Regions from separate parts of the Homo sapiens genome. Here region 1 is linked to region 2. The links are contacts of gene promoters, found by promoter capture Hi-C in human tissues and cell types (Jung and others, 2019). All regions are on one chromosome and are shown on one strand. Each heading gives the region's core, a stretch centred on a gene start or on the middle of the fragment in contact. The rest is flanking DNA. Distances are from core to core; before and after follow the strand shown. Region 1 has its middle 6.0 kb from the start of ZNF432. Region 2 holds the start of ZNF841 (zinc finger protein 841).

Evidence for each region. The method cuts DNA at HindIII sites, captures the fragments that hold promoters and counts their contacts. A contact is called where the count stands out against the background at its distance.
Region 1: a fragment that was not itself captured here is called in contact with the fragment with the promoter of ZNF841 in region 2 in 1 of the 25 tissues and cell types used here (aorta).

The regions. Positions count from the first base shown.
Region 1 is chr19:52,053,140-52,056,579 of GRCh38, forward strand. No RefSeq gene overlaps it. Among named protein-coding and RNA genes, the nearest start is that of ZNF432, 6.0 kb to the left of the region's middle. The HindIII fragment of the contact is 8,170 bases long and covers 1-3,440 here.
Region 2 is chr19:52,093,792-52,097,159 of GRCh38, forward strand. ZNF841 (zinc finger protein 841) reads right to left here and starts at 1,974. Exons shown (of 7, transcript NM_001136499.2): 1 at 1,784-1,974; 2 at 55-180. The HindIII fragment of the contact is 12,551 bases long and covers 1-3,368 here.

The DNA of each region.
Region 1 (3,440 bases), core at 845-3,344, 41 kb before region 2:
ATTAAAAGACACAGACTGGCAAATTGGATAGAGTCAGGACCCATCAGTGTGCTGTATTCAGGAGACCCATCTCACGTGCAGACACACACATATGCTCAAAAAAAAAAAAAGGGATGGAGGAAGATCTACCAAGCAAATGGAAAACAAAAAAAAGCAGGGGTTGCAATCCTAGTCTCTGAGAAAACAGACTTTAAACCAACAAAGATCAAAAGAGACAAAGAAGGCCATTACATAATGGTAAAGGGATCAATTCAACAAGAAGAGCTAACTATCCTAAATATATATGCACCCAATACTGGAGCACCCAGATTCATAAAGCAAGTCCTTAGAGACCTATAAAGAGACTTAGACTCCCACACAATAATAATGGGAGACTTTAACTTGCCACTGTAAACATTAGACAGATCAACGAGACAGAAAGATAACAAGGATATCCAGGAATTGAACTCAGCTCTGCACCAAGTGGACCTAATAGACATCTACCGAACTCTCCACCTCAAATCAACAGAATATACATTTTTCCTAGCACCACATTGCACTTATTCCAAAATTGACCACATAGTTGGAAGTTAAGCACTCCTCAGCAAATGTAAAAGAACAGAACTTATAACAAACTGTCTCTCAGACCACAGTGCAATCAAACTAGAGCTCAGGATTAAGAAACTCACTCAAAACCGCTCAACTACATGGAAACTGAACAACCTGCTCCTGAATGACTACTGGGTACATAACGAAATGAAGGCAGAAATAAAGATGTTCTTTGAAACCAATGAGAACAAAGACACAACATACCAGAATCTCTTGACACAGTTAAAGCAGTGTATAGAGGGAAATTTATAGCACTAAATGCCCACAAGAGAAAGCAGAAAAGATCTAAAATTGACACCCTAACATCACAATTAAAAGAACTGGAGAAGCAAGAGCAAACACATTCAAAAGCTAGCAGAAGGCAAGAAATAACTAAGATCAGAGCAGAACTGACGGAGATACAGACATAAAAAACACTTCAAAAAATCAATGAATCCAGGAGCTGGTTTTTGAAAAGATCAACAAAATTGATAGACTGCTAGCAAAACTAATAAAGAAGAAAAGAGAGAAGAATCAAATAGACACAATAAAAAATGATAAAGGGGATATCACCACCGATCTCCAGAAATACAAACTACCATCAGAGAATACTATAAACACCTCTACGCAAATAAACTAGAAAACCTAGAAGAAATGGATAAATTCCTGGACACATACACCCTCCCAAGACTAAACCAGGAAGAAGTTGAATCCCTGAATAGACCAATAACAGGCTCTGAAATTGAGGCAATAATTAATAGCCTACCAACCAAAAAAAGTCCAGGACCAGACAGATTTACAGCTGAATTCTACCAGAGGTACAAAGAAGAGCTGGTACCATTCCTTCTGAAACTATTCCAATAAATAGAAAAAGAGGGAATCCTCCCTAACTCATTTTATGAGGCCAGCATCATCCTGATACCAAAGGCTGGCAGAGACACAACATAAAAATAGAATTTTAAACCAATATCCCTGATGAACATCGATGCAAAAATCCTCAATAAAATACTGGCAAATCAAATCCAGCAATACATCAAAAAGCTTATCCACCAAGATCAAGTTGGTGTCATCCCTGGGATGCAAGGCTGGTTCAACATACACAAATCAATAAACATAATCCATCACATAAACAGAACAAAAGGCAAAAACCACATGATTATCTCAATAGATGCAAAAAAGGCATTCGACAAAATTCAACAGCACTTCATGCTAAAAACTCTCAATAAACTAGGTATTGATGGGATGTATCTCAAAATAATAAGAGCTACTTATGACAAACCCACAGCCAATATCATACTGAATGGGCAAAAACTGGAAGCATTCCCTTTGAAAACTGGCACAAGACAGGGATGCCCTCTCTCACCACTCCTATTCAACATAGTGTTGGAAGTTCTGGCCAGGACAATCAAGCAGGAGAAAGAAATAAAGGGTATTCAATTAGGAAAAGAGGAAGTCAAATTGTCCCTGTTTGCAGATGACAAGATTGTATATTTAGAAATCCCATCGTCTCAGCCCAAAATCTCCTTAAGCTGATAAGCAACTTCAGCAATGTCTCAGGATACAAAATCAATGTGAAAAATCACAAGCATTCCTATACACCAACAACAGACAAACAGCCAAATCATGAGTGAACTCTCATTCATAATTGTTACAAAGAGAATAAAATACCTAGGAATCCAACTTATAAGGGATGTGAAGGACCTCTTCAAGGAGAACTACAAACCACTGCTCAACGAAATAAAAGAGGACACAAACAAATGGAAGAACATTCCATGCTCATGGATAGGAAGAATCAAGATCGTGAAAATGGCCATACTGCCCAAAGTAATTTATAGATTCAATACCATCCCCATCAAGCTACCAATGACTTTCTTCACAGAATTGGAAAAAACTACTTTAAAGTTCATATGGAACCAAAAAAGAGCCCATATTGCCAAGACAATCCTAAGCCAAAAGAACAAAGCTGGAGGCATCACGCTACCTGACTTCAAACTATACTACAAGGCTACAGTAACCAAAAGAGCACGATACTGGTACCAAAACAGAGATATAGACCAATGGAACAGAACAGAGCCCCCAGAAATAGTACCACACATGTACAACCATCTGATCTTTGACAAACATGACAAAAACAAGAAATGGGGAAAGGATTTCCTATTTAATAAATGGTGCTGGGAAAACTGGCTAGCCATATATAGAAAGCTGAAACTGGATCCCTTCCTTACACCTTATACAAAAATTAATTCAAGATGGATTAAAGACTTAAATGTTAGACCTAAAACCATAAAAACCCTAGAAAAAAACCTAGGCAATACCATTCAGGCCACAGGCATGGGCATGGACTTCATGACTAAAACACCAAAAGCAATGGCAACAAAAGCCAAAATTGACAAATGGGATCTAATTAAACTAAAGAGCTTCTGCACAGTAAAAGAGACTACCATCAGAGTGAACAGGCAACCTACAGAATGGGAGAAAATTTTTACAACCTACCCATCTGACAAAGGGCTAATATCTAGAATCTACAAAGAACTTAAACAAATTTACAAGAAAAAATCAAACAACCCTATCAAAAAGTGGGTGAAGGATATGAACAGACCCTTCTCAAAAGAAGACATTTATGCAGCCAACAGACACATGAAAAAATGCTCATCATCACTGGCCATCAGAGAAATGCAAATCAAAACCACAATGTGTTACAGGAAGGCAGGGACCCCAAACAGAGAGACCAGATGGAGCTGCGGCAAAGGAACATAAATTGTGAAGATTTCACTTTAATATGGACATTTATCAGTTCTCAAATAATACTTTTATAATTTCTTATGCCTGTCTTTACTGTAATATCTTAATCCTGTTATCTTCATAAGCTGAGG
Region 2 (3,368 bases), core at 724-3,223:
AAAGTAAATTCATTACAAAAAAACAAGACTTTCAATGCTTCTGCGAAGACATACCTTGTAGGCCTAGTGTGGTGGCTCACATCTGTAATTCCAGTGCGTTGAGAGGCTGAGGTGGAAAGACTGCTTGAGGCCAGGAAGTAGAAGCTGCAGTGAGCCGAGATCATGCCACTGCTCTCCAGCCTAGGCGGCAGAGAGAGACCATGTCCCCCCCCAAAACAAAACAGAACAAAGCCAAAAAAAACACCAAAGACATATCTTGTAGTGACAGTCAGTCATTTCTTGCCCCATTTCTCCCCTCCTTTATGCTCTACTCCATCATTGGGAAGAAGAGAGTTACCACAAATAACTGGATCAAGTCACTGCCCTCTGGCTAAATAGGAATTCCAAATATCTTTTGATACAAATACATACAAAATGCACAAGGCTTATAGAAAAAACTTTGGTGATTTTCATCCTCATGAGTACAACTTAAACATATTTCAAATCAGAGTATAAAGCCACAAATCAATATATTACAACCACCATCCATATCCAATCAACTGTCACGCATCTGGATGGGGTCCTCTCCCGCTTTCTTCACGGCTATGTGTTTCCCTCTCTCATTCTGAGCGTCTTTTTTTTCTCCTTTTCTGTTTTGCACCCCTTTCTTTATTCCCTCTTTTATGTCTGTTCTGCCCAATGCTCTGCAACTTACTTCACCTCTCGTAGCTCTTTCTCCCCAATCTTTCCGATTGTCCCCAATCTCCACGTATTTCTGCCTCTTTTCCCCCATCTAAGCTCCCTCTCTGCTCTCCTTGTTAAATTCCCTCTTCCCTGTTACATCTCCTTTGTTCCCACTCTCTAGCACCCCCAATTTCCTAGGCTTACTCCCTGCTGTGGTTCTCCCTCTACTCTGCTTGTCACCCACTGCCCTCTCTCCCTCTCTTTCAGTCCCAGCACCACGTAGCTCTGTCAGCCGCGGCTCCAACTCTTTCACCTTCTCCCCACTGTCTGTCTGTCTGCAGTGCCTCCTCCTTTGCCGCCCCACTCTATTTTGCTGCCCTTCATCTCTCTGAAGGTCCCCTTTTTTTCTAAATTTCTCTGTGTGCTTTTCTCCCCCTGCTACTTTTTCCATCCGTTCTCTTTCACTCTTGCTCTCTTTGCAAGTCCCTAAAGTATCATCCATTTTGCCGTGTATTTATGGGTCTCCCTCATTCTTTTCTCCTCAGTTTTTCCTTTTGCTCCGTCGTTCCCCGTCTTTTCCTCTCCTGATCCCTCTCACCCACACATTCGGGAGGAAAGGGGAGGAATAGGATGCCCACCTCCCGGAAGAGCACATTTTCCAGTGGAGTAAAATTTGGGAAGGAAGAACACTGGGTGTCACAAGACAGACTCAGGTAACCTGTCCCAACGGGGAGTCAAGAAAAGCAGTGGCTGTGAAGGGGAAGCCTGGGGAGCGGAAGGACCCGGCGTGAGGACGACACGAGGTGGCGCGGAGAACGATGTCTCACGACAGGGAGGGTCTGCAGAATCCCAGGACGTGGGAGGAGAAGCGGCTCCTTCAGGAGCCGGACAGTGGGCGCTCCCCTCCAGGGGCAGACGACGGAGGAGCTCGGGGATCGCGAAGGGCGCTAGTCCACATCCCGAATGAGGACTCGACTTGGCGCGGGGCCCAAGCAGAGGGTTTTAAGCGGGAACACTACCTGAATGGGGTTGTCTACATGGTCCTAAGGAAGAAAGGCAGAGAGCAAGGAACGGCCTCAGAGAGATTTTAAACCGAAAGGGAAGCAATTCTCCTACTTACTTGGGACGAAGGGGCTGTTGCGGGTATTTTAAGGTCCGTAGCGATCCCCAGGTCACGGGTATGGAGAACCGAGGACTGCGAAGTGCACGTTTAATCAAGGTAGACGAAGAGAAGCAAACGTTTAATCCAGGTAGACTGAAACACACTCATAGCGACGTGGCCTTTCCCCAGCGCGATCTGCTTCCGGGTGTGCAGGAAACTGGGCGCGGAAAGAAAAACTGGGCGGCCTGGGGGCGGGGCCTAGGCGGGGCGCGACTAGGAAAGGGCTGGGCGGAAAGACTGGCCTGACTTGGGAGTGGCCCGAAAGGGTGGTGGGAGGCCCAGGGCGGTAGGGGGCGTGACTAGGTGGGGCTTGGCTGGACCGAAAACTGGGATGAAGCGGGGCCTCCAGGGGTGGGCGGGGCCGAGGCGGGGCCTGTTCTCCACTCCGCCTCTCACCCAGCAGGATTTTGTTTTCCAGGTTTGGGAGTATTTGTGACTATTTCTTGTCCTGTGAAGCAGCGTTGCTCCTTGCCCATTTTAAATTAATGTTTCAGAATTTAAGGTTGAATCTTAAAGTTGTGGTCCACTTATACTGGAAACTAAGATGATTTATTCTTAACAAGTTGAACTGATTTAAGTCAAAACCGATTTTTCCGAGCCTGGTGGACTCCATCCAGTCTTACCAGAAAAGCTGAAGCTACTCAGTAGTCAGGGAACTGGGATCTCGGTGGGGATTGGATGTGGAGCAGTGACTGGATCCAGGAACCCAGAAGACATTATGCCAAGCGAAATGTGCTAGACACAGTGTAGAAAATGAAATAAGTAGAGGTTCCTCTTCAAAGGGACTTTCCTCCCAGTCTAATTGAGAATAGATAGTAACCTCTCTTAGAAGCAAAATTTACTCAAAGACCTGTGCTAATATTCTTAAATATCTGCTAGCCATAATAGATAAATCAATATACTCTGTGTTCTTAGCTCCCACATTTTAGCCTAGATATTTGCCCTGGCATGCCTGAATTGTTCCAAGCAAGCATTAGGTCACAGCCTATTCCTCTTCCTTATTTGGAAGTGTTTTTGCCTCTCTCAGCCTTCCACAAGTTACTTCCTCTCTTCCTTTGTTCTCCTCTGCCTTTGCCTCTTTTGGGAAGTTCTAAGGTGCTAGCCAATCAGGTCAAGCACAGAATTGGGTCCGATTCCAGCCAATGGAAACCAGACACAGCAGTAGGGTGGACGCGTCAGGTTATTATTATTATTATTTTTTTTGAGACGGAGTCTCGTTCTTTCGCCCAGGCCGGAGTGCAGTGGCGCTATCTCGGCTCACTGCAAGCTCTGCCTCCTGGGTTCACGCCATTCTCCTGCCTCAGCCTCCCGAGTAGCTGGGACTAGAGGCACCTGCCACTGCGCCCAGCTAATTTTTTGTATTTTTAGTAGAGACGGGGTTTCACTGCGTTAGCCAGGATGGTCTCGATCTCCTGACCTCGTGATCCGCCCACCTCGGCCTCCCAAAGTGCTGGGATTACAGGCATGAGCCACCGCGCCCGGCCAGATGCGTCAGGTTATAAATGACCCTTCTCTTTTGTTCATGTGTACTCTCGTGGCAAGA